Regions from separate parts of the Homo sapiens genome. Here region 2 is linked to region 1. Evidence: promoter capture Hi-C in human tissues and cell types (Jung and others, 2019). All regions are on one chromosome and are shown on one strand. Each heading gives the region's core, a stretch centred on a gene start or on the middle of the fragment in contact. The rest is flanking DNA. Distances are from core to core; before and after follow the strand shown.

Region 1 (6,881 bases), core at 2,557-5,056:
CAGGAATGAATGGGGAATCCCATGAAATCCTATTTACCCCTGGGGACTTCAAACGAGAATGTGTAAATAGTACCTTAAGCCCCAGGTAGGCAAGGACCATTATTTCCGTTTTCTTGGTTCCCTTTGATAAGCAAATTGACCAAATTTAGTAATTTCGAATTCATAGGCATTGTATCATCTACTTCACATGTTCCACAGAGGAATGCATTTCGGTAAGGATTATCAGAGACAGCTTTTTCTCTTAGGCAGGCAGTATGGTATATTGTGAAAATGTGGGCCTTGGCCGGGCTTGGTGGCTCATGCCTGTAATCCCAGCACTTTGGGAGGCTGAGGCGGGCAGATCACTGGGTCAGGAGTTTGAGACCAGCCTGGCCAACATGGTGAAATCCCATCTCTACTAAAAACACAAAAAATTAGCTGGGTAGGGCACCTGTAATCCCAGCTACTCAGGAGGCTGAGGCAGGAGAATCGCTTGAACCCAGGAGGCGGAGGTTGCAGTGAGCCGAGACTGCGCCACTGCACTCCAGCCTGGACAACAGAGACTCCGTCAAAAAAAAAAAAAAAAAAAAGGAAAGAAAGAAAATGTGGGCCTCCAGGTCAGAATGATTTGGGGTCAAGACTTTTTCTTAAACTTGCAACCTCAAGTGAGTCACTATCCTCTCTAGTCCGAGTTTCCTCAGCCTTGAGGTGGTGATAACACCTACCCTGCTGGGTGGTTGTGAAGATTAGTAATTTTGTTGATAAAGTGATCTCTTCAGGTATGGTCCAGATTGAGTGTTCTCAGCTAGGCTGTGCATTTCCATTAGGAAATGGGCTTTATTGAACTGGATATCCCTAGAGTCTAGTACAATAACATATATTAGGCACTTAGTAGCTGTTTATTTTTTCATTTTTTATTTTTTATTTTGAGACAGGATCTAGCTCTGTCACCCAGGCTGCAGTGCGAGGGCTTAAGTGATCCTCCTGCCTCGGCCTCTCGAGTACCTGGGACTACAGGCATGCACCACCACACCCAGCTAATTTTTTAACATTTATTTTTTGTAGAGATAGGGTCTCACTGTGTTGCCCAGTCTGGTCTCAAACTCCTGGGTCCATGCAATCCTCTCGGCCAGTAACTGTTTATTAAGCAAGGATCACATAAATACTCCACTAACAAGCTGGGCATGGTGGCTCACGCCTGTAATCCCAGCACTTTGGGAGGCCGAGGCGGGCAGATTGCTTGAGGTCAGGAGTTCGAGACCAGCCTGGACGACATGGTGAAACCCCATCTCTATTAAAAACACAAAAAATAGCCAGGCATGGTAGTGTATGCCTGTAGTCCCAGCTACTCAGGAGGCTGAGGCAGGAGAATCACTTGAACCTGAGAGACAGAGGTTGTAGTGAGCCGAGATTACACCAGTGTACTCCAGCCTGGGTGACAGAGTGAAATTGTCTCAAACAAAACAAAACAAAACAAAACAAAACAAAACAAAACAAAACTCCACTAACTTGTTAATTAGTGTATACCTTTGTATTGATCTATAACCTTTAACTTATTTATATTTTGTCTTTATTAATAGCCTCTTTGGGAAAATATTTTTCTTCTCCTTTCTCTTTAAAACACCTCCTACTCCCTCCCCCTACCAAGCTTAGAGCAAGTACATATTTCCAGGTTTGATTAAAGGCCAGAGTAGGATTTAGGAATTTCTTCAGAACACTGTTGAAACAATGCTGGAATATGACTTTGGATTAACATCCTTTTACCTTTCTAGGACTCAGCTCACACGACCATGATATTATTTTGTGGGTGGACTTTAAAAGATTTCTACATCAATTAAAACCTAGTTTGACTTAAGCCCTGCAAAATTTTACTTCCTTCCCAACAATAGGAAATCACAGCTCCCTTCTATGAGCAAAGTTGACTTGCAATTGCTCCTAACACATGTCAGAGGTGACACTTCACTCTTAAAGGTGCTTCTGAGGCTGCGGTTTCAAGAAGTCAGTAGTGTGAAAACTGGATCCCTATATGACAATTTTCAGGTAAAAAGAAAAAAGCATCAAGGAATTAAGAGTCGTACTGAGGGCTTCTTATTCTTCTAACTGATGATGATGATTTTTAGACAGGAGATATACGGACCTCGTATTGACTCTACTCCTAACTACGAACATGACCCAAGGACAATTACTTGAACTTTGGGAACCTCAGTTTTCTTATCTATAAGTGGAATTTACAAGGGGAAGATATGAGGATTGAAGGAGATAATGTATATGAAGTGCCTATGGAGCCGGGCACAGCACTTCACAACTGTAATCTCGGCATTTTGGGAGGCTGAGAAGGGAAGATCGCTTGAGCTTAGGAGTTTGAGACCAGCTTGGGCAATATGGTGAAACCCTGTCCCTACAAATAAAAAATTAAAAAATTAGCTGGACATGGTGGTGCCCGCCTGTAGTCCCAGGTACTTTGGAGGCTGAGTTGGGAGGATGGCTTTAGCCCACGGGGTTGAGGCTGCAGTGAGCCAAGATCGCACCACTGCACCCCAGCCTGGGTGACAGAGTGAGACCGTGTGTTAAAAAAACAAATAAATAAAGGGCCTATCAGTGTTTGGCTAATATTGTGATTAAGAATAAATCAGAGTTCCAATAAACTATTATTTCTAGAAAAAAAATAGTGAAAAAAATCACCTTAAAAATACCTTCCAAATTTTTTTCCCATTTACTTATTTGAAAACAGAATCTATTCAGGACAAAATTCTATCTTCAAGTACCAAATGGGTGATACAGTTCGCATTTATCCAAAAGCAGATTAAAGACAATGCCTTTTCTTGCCTACCTACTTGGAAAAGATCTCAGTGTCACTCAAATCACATTCCAAATCTCAACGACATTAAGGCCTCAAATCCTCTTAGGAAAGGTTTGAAGGTAGTTCATTTCAGTAATGATTAGACACTTGGGGACAAAACAGTACCTTGGCATCAAGGTCTGTACTGATTCACCAGCACAGAAATAGCAGTAACAAGATCTTCAACTCTGAGGTGTTCAAATAAGCAGACAAACTCCCTCGTGAGGCCCAGGCCTCTTGACATCCGGACTCAGTCTTTCTTTCTCAGATCGCCAAGGGTCTGGCCCATTTCTCAGCCTAAACCTATTTTGCGTTTAATTCAAACCAGTCAAAGTAACTTAACCGCCAGCAGTTAAAAAGCTACTAGGAGGAAGCGTAGGCAGGAGATGGGAGAGGAAAAGGCTCCTGTCAGGGTTTGGGCTTATGTGTGGATTCTTGAATTCTCCTTCTTTGTTCCTTTTAGCACTTACGATCAAGAACGGCTAGGCTGAGGGGGCAGGGGGGCCAGGCCACTGGAGCGAAACGGCCTCTCCGGATCTGGAGGCGTGGGAACCTCGGGAATAGTGGGGAGTTCCAGACCAGTTCCCTTCCCCCATCTGAACAAGTCCAGAGCGTGCGCCTTGAGAGGCGCTCGGAAACAGGGAAGCTGGGGACACGTAGCGAGAGACTGGTTGTCGCCCTGGCTGTCCGTCTTAGACCTAGCTTAGCGACCACCGCCTTCAATCCCTCAGCCCGGATCAGACGGTGCCAAAAGACAGCACTGCTTCCCAGCCTGGCCCAACGGCTCGGCTGCTGATTGGGCACCGCCGCCTCCCGCCCCGCCTCCCCTGCCACCTCGGGCGCCGCTGCACGTTTCCACTGGTCTTCAGCCCTGCCGATCAGTTTACTGCTCACCTCCCCCAAACAGCTCGTCAGGCCGGCGCGTGCTAGGAAGGCGGGGCCTGTGGCCTGTGGGGCGGAGCCTCGGTGGAGGTCGGCGCAGCTGCCCCTTTGGGCTTTGGCTCTGGACTGGAGCGCAGCATCCTTCGAGGCTGCAGCCGCCACGGCTGTTGCCGTAAGCAATCCTCCTGCCTCAGCCTCCCGAGTAGCTGGGACTCGGGACCAGCCTCCCGAGTATTGGTCAGGTAAAGAGAGTCTTGTCTGTTCTGCTGGCCATCTGCCCGTCTCTTCTTCCCGACCAAAGGCTGCCTGCTCCGCCTTCCCCCGTGGCTTTCAGGGTTCTTGGAATGAGGCATCAAGTCTATTTACCCCGCCAGCTTATCTTCCTCCCCTTCTGTGTCGGTTCCTCCAGCTCCCCCACCAAGCTGCTCCCAAGTACGTTGGTGGGCCCTCCGGGTCATCCCAACGCTCCTCACTACAGAACTCCTGTCGTTGACTCTCAGGTCCCAGCCCCCTTGACCCGCCAGTGCAGTCTCATTCCCAGCTTGGCACAGGAAAGGTGGAGGGCGGGAGGGCGGGAGGGCGGGGGACGGAGAGATGCAGAGCTTTTTTTTTTTTTTTTTTTTTTTTTTGAAGCTGGATGTGTTTAGCGCAGAGGGGGAGCACCACAATGGGATTGCATTGGGAACAGAAGCAGCTTCATGACTATGGTTGGCAATGACTAGAAAGGTATCTGTTGCTGCTTTTTGCTTGTGTTTATAGATGACATTTACCATCACCGTTTTCTTCTTCTTTCATCATCATCATCATCACCATTGCCACTACCACCACCTCCAAGGCCACTACCACCACAGCATCTCTGTTCCTCCATCAGAGCTCTTCAAGTTCTGTAAAGGCAGATTCTCTAAAGGCATGTAAGTGCTGACGGATCCCCCAACCCCCTCCCCCACCACCAAATAACGAACAGTGCTCTTGCCCCCTGAGGCCAGAGCCAAGCCCTCATTTAACTCAAGAACAAGTAGCTGGGAGCAGAGTGTGAGCTGGGAGGATTTTCCTTATCCTCATTTGCAATTGAGATTGCCAAAGAAAACCCTTTATTTTAATCATCCACATTTCTGCTTGCTGTCTCCTGGAGAGTTCCATGTTAGCACTCACACACTCCGAATGGGCTGAATGCAGAGCCTGAACCTGTGATATATATGGGGAGTGGCAGTCACTGAGAGGTGAATGTCCAGACCCAATCCTTTAAGAAGACCAGGTGGAGTAGCAGACAACCTGACTTTCTGCTACAGTAGCTCCAGCTGTACTAAAGCATGTTTACTATTCATGTTTGCATATGGGACATGTGCCATCATCTGCTATGCCCCCTTGCGTGTGTATTGGCAGGGGGGCGGAGGGGCGCATCTAAATTCCTAGGAGAGAGAATTATATTCTGTTCTCTACACCAGGTAGCATCTTATAGGCACACCAATGGGATTCAACAGCCGTTGCTTAGCTGTTTCTAGGGCTTACTGCAAATCTCTTGGATCACAGACTTATTAACCCTTTTTTGGGAGGGAAAACAGTATAGCTGAGAATTGCATACCAGATTAACTGTCGTTGTGGAAGATGTTGCTTCCACAATGAATCAATGAGGTCTCGGGTCTTCTTGATCAGATATCTAAACACTAGTCTCCTTTCTCTCAACTGTGTTACAGTCCAGGAGCAGGACCAATGAATAGTTAGACATATTGCAGGAACAAAGAAGCAATGGCCTCAATGGAGGGAAACAATGGAGAAGAGTAGTGAGACAGTATATTGTAATGGCTAAACTCATAAACCTGTCAGACATAGGTTCAAATCCTGGACCAGCCACTGACTAGCTCAGTGATTTTTGCAAGTTGCTTGCCTCTTTAATTTTAATTTCTCGTCTGTAAAATAGGGATAATACTACCTGTCTCTTAGGAGAAGGTGTGAGGATTAAACGAGATAATATAGGTAAAATACTCAGTAGTTTCTGGCACATAAGTGGGGAATTTATAGTAACTGCTATTAATAATACTAGTCAAGAAGGATAATAAAGGCCAGTCTCGTTCCTAAAAATTATGCATTTTTTTCCATTGTCTTTATCCTTTTTAGGTGTCAGAGCTGATGCAAATGGGGTATGGTAGTCTTCAGGTTCCTTATAGCACTACATCTTAGAGGGGTGCCACTATTGAAGCCACCTGTGTTTGGACAGGCATTTCTCTCACCAGCCTTCACAAGTACTTAGCCGATTCTTAGTTGAGATACGTTAAAGATGCAGCTTTAGAGAAGATTTCCAGGCCTCTGGCCCTATTCTAGACTGCTTCTTTCTCACTGAGTGTTCAATGCATTGACTGTGATTGATGAAGCCTTTGTCACAGGCTTAACCCTGCCTAGACCAAATGCTTTGGCCAAGGGAATGGGGTCCCATAGGACCTATGATTGTCTAAGGGTAGGTCTCATATCCTGGTCATCCTCCCTTTCCAGACATAAAATTGGTGGAGCTGTTCCCAGAGGAAGAGGAATGGGGACAGACTGGAACTTGATGTGATGATGGTAAATATCCTTGATAGAAAATTGAGAAATGCTTCTCTCCTATCTCATATACCATGCCTCAAAGTCTAGTTTTACGTTAAAGTTTTGGATTCATGCACACCATCCCAAGCTGTGGTGTGCTTTAGATGATCTTGCCTTTAATGGTTTTCTTATTAAAACTTTATTCGTATCAGTGTAAAAGTTCATAATGGATATTTCATATCTTGCAGTGATGCTACTGGTTGGTAGTATGACCACGTTTAGGGGCTATTCATAATCTCTTTTTGGGACCTGGTTTTAAGAGTAGCTATTATTTTTAGATGTACATAGTCTCTGTCTTAAATATCAGCTTAATTCTCAACAGGTCCCAGCCTGTGTTGACAGAATTACAGCTGTTAATCTGATTTGCCTGATCTTGCAGAGACGCTAAACCATGGGAATTGTATTCTCCTGCAGCAAATATAAGCTTGCACCAACAGGCTGGCACTGTGAAGGAACTGAAGCATCTCTGTATTTAGTGTCTGTGCTGAAGTGCTGACAAAGCATCAACCCCATGCTCTGCAAAATAGTAATTACTAAAGCGGGGAGATGTAAAGAAGGAAACAAACCTCTTTACCTTGTCAGCGCATAAAAGCAAGGGTCTGAG
Region 2 (6,881 bases), core at 2,683-5,182, 780 kb before region 1:
TTGTCTGTTTTTTTATTTATCTTGTTCTGCTACCCCTACTCCTTACTTTTGCCTGGCATGGACATACATCTCTTTCCTCTGTCCATTTTTCACATGTTTGTTCTTGTTAGACTTGGGACTTCAGGGTGAAAGTGAACATTATTCTCTGGTTTCTTCTAAGTTTGTGGTTTATTAATATATCCTTCTAATATTTCTTGGGTGTAGGAACCAGGGGAAAGGGAAAAAGTAAGGCCGAATTCTGTTTTTCTCAAATGCCTGGGGACGAATTTGTACACCTTAATTTTATTTATTTTTATTTTTATTTATTTATTTATTTATTTTGAAACAGAGTCTCACTCTGTCACCCAGGCTGGCATGCAGTGGCGTAATCTTGGCTAATTGCAACCTCTGCCTCCCAGGTTCAAGCCATTCTCCTGTCTTAGCCTCCCAAGTAGCTGGCATTATAGGTGCCTGCCACCATGCCGGCTAATTTTTGTATTTTTAGTAGAGACAGGGTTTCACCATGTTGATCAGGCTGGTTTTGAACTCCTGACCTCAGGTGATCCTCCCACCTCGGGCTCCTAAAGTGCTGGGATTACAGGCGTGAGCCATCGTGCCCGGCCTGTACGCTTTAATTTTCATTTGATGTTTTATTTCCAATTATTAAATGTACTCCCCCACTCTGTTTTTCTCACTCAAGAGACTTCCTGTGTCTACAGTGGGTTTGCTGTAGTCTAGTACCACACATGTTCAGAGGATGCTCAGGAAATATTAGTAATACGTGTCACTTTGTTCAGAACGGCCAGTCTGCATTGGTTCTGCCTAGAGAGAAATTTCCTCTTTCTTCATGTACTTGGATCGCTAAGGTTTTCTGGTTGAATTTCTATGTTTTTAAAATAGTTTTATATAGACATAGTGACTTTTGAAATGGTCCTCCCTCCCTCCCTACCTCTCTCGCTTCCTCCTCCATCCTTCCATCCCTCCCTCCCTCCCTCCCTTCCTCTCTTCCTTTTCTTCCTTTCTTTTTCCTTTTCTCTTTCTCTTTCTTTTCTTTTCTTTTTTCTCTGTTTTGACAGGGCTCGTTCTGTCACCCAGGCTGGAGTGCAGTGGCGTGTTCACAGCTTGCTGCGGCTTTGACCTCCTGGGCTCAAGCAATCCTCCTGCCTTGGCCTCCAAAGTGTTAGAATTACACGGGTGAACTACCACACCTGGCCTGAAATAGTCCTTTCTAATTCAAACCTGGCTGTTTTGCCAGGGAGGACTTACTTGCTCTGAGACCATATTATTGGAAACTTAGAGTGTAATAGAGAACGTTTGATTCTTCACTTGTAGAAATAGTCAGAATTTCAAGGTTCAAAATTTCACAGACATAGACATAGGGCTGTAATGAGAAGGAAAATATGTATGTACCATCCTTTCTTCCAAAGTGTCCTTGGAGGAGAGCAAGCATAAGAATGGTGCTCAGTGAGGCCACGAGGCTGGGATACAACACCCTGAATCAAAGCACGCTGTCATAGCCTCCTAACAAAAGAGAATGTCAAGGTTTGAAACCGGAATTCATTATAATATGCAGTATTTTATGTACTTGTAAATAAAAGTAAGGGAGTATAGGAGGAGATGATAAGGGGAGGATTTGTTTTGAATCTGTCTCATCTTCTGCTTTGTTGAAGTGCTAATCAGATGATCTTTCTATCCTACCAATATATGAGAAAAAGTGTCTTAGAGTAAGAGTATTGGAGCTTGTTCTTGTTATCCTAAAGGCAAGCTTCCCTGTCTCATGTAAGAACTCCAGCTTTTTGTGTTCCCTTTAAATGTATATTTTGTGTTTTTTGTTCATTTTGTTGCTAAAAAAGGTAGTGCGGATTTTGTTAGTGAGGAGACAGCCTTTCAACCTTCCTATCTCCTTGGTACCAATTTAAGCCAAAAATTATTTTTTTCTATACAAGATATTAACCTTGCCATAACTAATTCATGCCATTGTGACCATGAGTTTAGCTATCTCTTTTCTATATAAGGAATCACTGCTGGGAATTGGTTTCCTTCCCAAGGGACCCTGTAATTTTGATTATTTTACTTCCATCCAGGATGTCACTATACCACAGGAGGCTGGCTGACTCAGGGATGGGAAGAAAAGGCATAGAAAAATAAAGTAGCTTATGTTTCTATGCCTAGGATGTTTGTTTCAAAAGTTCAGCTGGGGATCTGAGACAGGAAAGGTACAATAAATTTATGTTAAAAATTTCAGCTGGTCATCTGAGACAGGAGAGGTACAATACATTTATGTTAAATTTTTTTTTTGTTTCTGTCTTGCTGTTTACATTTATTTAAAATATTTTAAATGGAGATATACCATTATGCCTGCAGAAGGTCCTATTCCTGATACTTAAAAAGCCTAAATAAAGATATATAAATTTTAACCAGTTCCTAATACACTTACAGAATAAAAGTGTGTTGTCTACTGGAGTTTTTCTTCCCAGATCCATTTATGGAGAGGCCATAAAAAATCTGATGCGGGCATGGCAGAAATTTATATTAAAGCTGTGTAATAAGTCCATGGGTATTGGTTGTTGGTTTAAAATAACTCTACTTAAAATTGAATCTCAAGAATATATTTGAAAATATTTTAAAGTATTTTAGAGAAAAAAGCGACATTACTCACTTAGGAGATTGACTTCAAAGCAGGAATCATTTGAGATTTTGGATGAATAGTTATGAGAATTCCTTAGTGAACAGGACAGTGCTGGAGATGATCACTGAATGCAAATGAATACATTGTAATATAAATAGTATGTCATAATAATTGAAACATGGCTTTTTTAGATGGAAGATCATATTTCCTCTTTTAAAAGTTGATTTTATCCAATATATCCTGCTGGTTGTAATATTTAGTTATATATGGAGGTTCAAGCTTAAATACTTGAGCCCCATCTCACTTGCAAAAGCAAGTAAATTGCAGAGTTCACAAACCTGGAAACAACTCAGGACAACTCCAGTGTTTGGTATAATGTTGTTAGGTGAAATAATACTAGAATATTATGCAAGGGACCTGGTATTTCTTTCTTTTCTTTTCTTCTTTTGAGACATAGTCACTCTGTCACCCAGGCTGGAGTGCAGTGGCACAATCTAGGCTCACTGTAACCTCCGCTGCCCGGGTTCAAGGGATTCTTCTGCCTCAGCCTCCCGAGTAGCTGGGACTACAGGCATGTGCCACCACGCCCGGCTAATTTTTGTATTCTCAGTAGAGATGGGATTTCACCATGTTGGTCAGGCTGGTCTTGAACTCCTGACCTCATGATTCACCTGCCTCGGCCTCCCAAAGTGCTGGGATTACAGGCGTGAGCCACCGTGCCCAGCTGGGACCTGGTATTTCTAACAAATTCTGTTGTTTTCTCACACTGAATTCTGAGTTCTATTATGACAAATTCTCACTTTTTGTTTCTATGCTTTCTTGATTGCAAATAATTTTTTGAGATTTTGTTAATTTTAGTTACTTCTGGAATATTCCAACCCAAATTATAGATGTTTAGTCCTTTTTAAAATCAACTTATAATTTATTTGAATCCTAGGTCTTAGTTGCTTGATCAATGTTTAGGCAGCAGAATAATTGAGTAGCATTCCGCATAGCTAAGTAGCACTGTTTCGCAACCTGTGCCCTCTTGCTCTAGAAAATACTATTGCTTGACATATACCAGGAGTTTTAGGTTAGAGTATTTGGCAGTGTCTATATGGAATCAAAAACTTGCATTAAAATGGAGAAGAATATCTTTGTGAATCCTCTAGATGGCAGAACAATTACAACAAACATATCTTAGAAGGTGTCCAAGAAGCGTGTGGAGGAGAGAGTGTAGAAGAGATGGGGTGAGAAGGGGACCTGCGGGCTCTAAGCTTTCTGTCTCAACCCAACCAGGGCAGATCTGCTCTTATATGTCTTATATCTTGATATTTTATCTAAGATGGTGTTTGAAAGAAGGAACATGGCTAAAAACATGATAGGATGTCAAAACTCAAAATCTGTTGTTCTTTTTTTCCTTCAGGATAGAGTTTCGCCCTTGTTGCTCAGGCTGGAGCGTAATGGTGCAATCTTGGCTCACTGCAAGCTCCACCTCCTGGGTTCAAGCGATTCTCCGGCCCCAGCCTCCAAGTAGCGGGGATTACAGGCATGCACCACCACACCCGGCTAATTTTTGTATTTTTATTAGAAACGGGGTTTCAACATGTTGGCCAGGCTGGTCTCAAACCCCTGACCTCAGGTGATCCACCTGCCTCGGCCTCCCAAAGTGCTGGGATTACAGGCGTGAGCCACTGTGCCCGGCCCAAAGCTCAAAATCTTAAGTTGTGCACGCCAACATCAAATCACAGATTTCTGTGAGGACGTACACATGCATTATTCATGTACCCTGAGCATCTTCAGACTATAGCTGCCCCCACCCCAACACACATGTTGATGAATTCTAGAGTGATGCTGGCCTACTTCAACACTCTGCTACTTTAATTTCTATCATAGGGGTTGAGGCACAGCATAGTCTTTTAGCCTTTGTCCCTGCTTTTAAAGAAATCACCATTGTTGGTATATTGTATGTTGGCATAAGGAGAAGAGATGACTTGGGGAGATATAACATAGGTAACTTGCAAAGATTCATTCCTCACAGAGAGTGAAAGAGGGAGAGGGGGCAGGTAGAGCATCCAACAGAATAAATGTAAGATTTTAAGTGTGTCACTTTCTCCACTCATCTTTGAATAGAAAGATGACTGTAGTATCTCTTCAATTTCATTTGCAAAGTACTTATTCAAATTCCCCTGAAGTCACTTTTTAATAGCAAGACCAATTTAGATCCTTTTGGATTATCGATGAAATTCTAGATCTAGTAGTATAGCAAACGTGATTTCCATATGTCAAATAGAGCAAAAGCATAAGGGATAAATTTGCTATCCTGTATTTGCATACCTCATAATATCATATACTATCCCTAACAGATATTATCTCCTTATAGCTATTATTTCAGTATAAACTACTTTAAAAGACTCCTTCATTAGACTTTTCTGCAGTTACCTACTTGCCTATTATCAGTGAAATGCAGCTGAGGTATATTTTAGGATCACTATTCTTCTGGCTGTCTGAGATTGTACCTGAGAATGCATTAAGATACATTTTCACATTCATTTAACACATCTGCTGATTAACTAGTCCTGAGCTTACCTTGGGAATAGACAGATAAATTAGATGTGGTCTTTACTCTTAAGGCCCTCAACCATGAAAAATGCAATTTCGTATGTCAGACAACTATATAAATAGATTTTCTTATTTTTTTAACTTTTAGATTTTTTTATAGAGATGGAGTCTTGCTGTGTTGCCTAGGTGGGTCTCGAACTCCTGGCCTCAAGCGATCCTCCAGCTTTGGCCTCCCAGAGTGCTGGGATTACAGGTTGCGCTTGGCCATAAATAGGTTTTCAATGGAATCTAACAAGGTGTTATGAAAGAAGTATCCTCAAAGTGTTGGGGAAGTTCCTAGGCATGAGAAGCTCTTCTGTAGGTATTACCAGAAGTTACCCAGAAGTTACTGCATGTAGAGGACTGTCTTTGCAACACAAATGAAGGGAAGGTATACAGTTGATGAAATATTAAGAGTTGTACTATGTTATATACTGAGCCTGATAGATTTACACCAACAGCTTTCTAGGTTACTGTACCAAAAAATTCTATAAATAGCTAAGGATTTTTAGTTGATAACTGAACTGGAAATCATCTCTGGCTTTTGCTTCTTAAAGAACACATTATTCAGTGCTACATTTCTATAGTGATAATCAGGAAATAAGAAGGCCCACGTAGTCTGATGATGACAACAGTGTGACGTCAAACAATGTCTATAAAAGTGGTAATGTTTTCTGATTGGTCCAGATTCTTGAGTTATTTCACTAATAATTTCAATACAAAAAATGGAGAATGTCAGATCTTTAAACAACTGCTGAATAACCCATTGGTTGTAATGAACCAGTACATAGGACTGAATAAATGCTTTAAGAATTCTCTACACACCACTGGATCAAGCAATCTGTGTAACTGTAGATAATGAGACTTCAGCTTGACTTGTAATTATGCGTGGAGTAGTTAACTGTATTTTTTACACATCATCTTTGTATAGGCTCTGAGTCTAGGAGGGTCAGTCACAAATGACTGATACTCTGAATCAGGGTATTGCCACTAATCAAAGGACAGACTGCACATGTGTTCAGTGTGGAAGGATTAGTTGGTCTGCTTTGTCTTTTGGCTACTGTTGCAAACAAAGATTACAAAAAGAGGTCTGTATATGCCTATGTGTTTGTAAAAGGAGCTTTCATTTTTGTTTCCTTAATTGAACCCTAACTCCTGATTTATTTTTATTTATTTTTTACAAATATTTGTTGAAGACTTTCAGAGAACACAGAAGTTTTGCTAATTCAAGACAGTCCTTTGTTTTTTTGTTTTTGTTTTTGTTTTTGTTTTCTGTTGTTGTTTTTGTTTTTTAACAAATCCATGCTGTTTTAGAAAGGTGTTAACCAGCCCCCTCCCTGCCCTCATACTAGTCCATGTGTCAGATACTAATTAATCTATGTCATGGGATCACTTTATAATCTATATTTAGGGATCTCTTTCTCATTCAGAGACACCGTCTTTCTCATTTTGGGTGTTTTGGTAATTTTTCAATTTTCTGAGTAGCATCAGTATTTCTGCTTGAACCAAGGTGAAATTTTGCATCTATTTCTCAGTTCTCTAGGGGCCTCTTTCATGACTGTCTGCTTGCTTACTGGTATTTTCCTTACTCCCGTTTTATCATGGTCTGTGAATTTAACCAACATGATGTTTACTCCCGCTTTTGAATTATTAATGAGAAAACTGTGAGATGGTACTTTTATCTTTAATAGTT

Evidence for each region. The method cuts DNA at HindIII sites, captures the fragments that hold promoters and counts their contacts. A contact is called where the count stands out against the background at its distance.
Region 2: a fragment that was not itself captured here is called in contact with the fragment with the promoter of FMN1 in region 1 in 3 of the 25 tissues and cell types used here (dorsolateral prefrontal cortex, lymphoblastoid cells and mesendoderm cells).

The regions. Positions count from the first base shown.
Region 1 is chr15:33,191,639-33,198,519 of GRCh38, reverse strand. It overlaps FMN1 (formin 1), which reads left to right and starts at 3,806. Exons shown (of 21, transcript NM_001277313.2): 1 at 3,806-3,942; 2 at 4,460-4,611. It overlaps LOC105370759 (a long non-coding RNA gene), which reads right to left and starts at 3,609. Exons shown (of 3, transcript XR_932090.3): 1 at 2,945-3,609. RefSeq lists silencers at 3,504-3,713, 3,488-3,827. The HindIII fragment of the contact is 9,448 bases long and covers 658-6,881 here.
Region 2 is chr15:33,972,103-33,978,983 of GRCh38, reverse strand. The region is part of intron 2 of AVEN (apoptosis and caspase activation inhibitor); the gene reads left to right. All of the region lies in intron 1 of CHRM5 (cholinergic receptor muscarinic 5), which reads right to left. Among named protein-coding and RNA genes, the nearest start is that of CHRM5, 7.0 kb to the right of the region's middle. The HindIII fragment of the contact is 3,232 bases long and covers 2,317-5,548 here.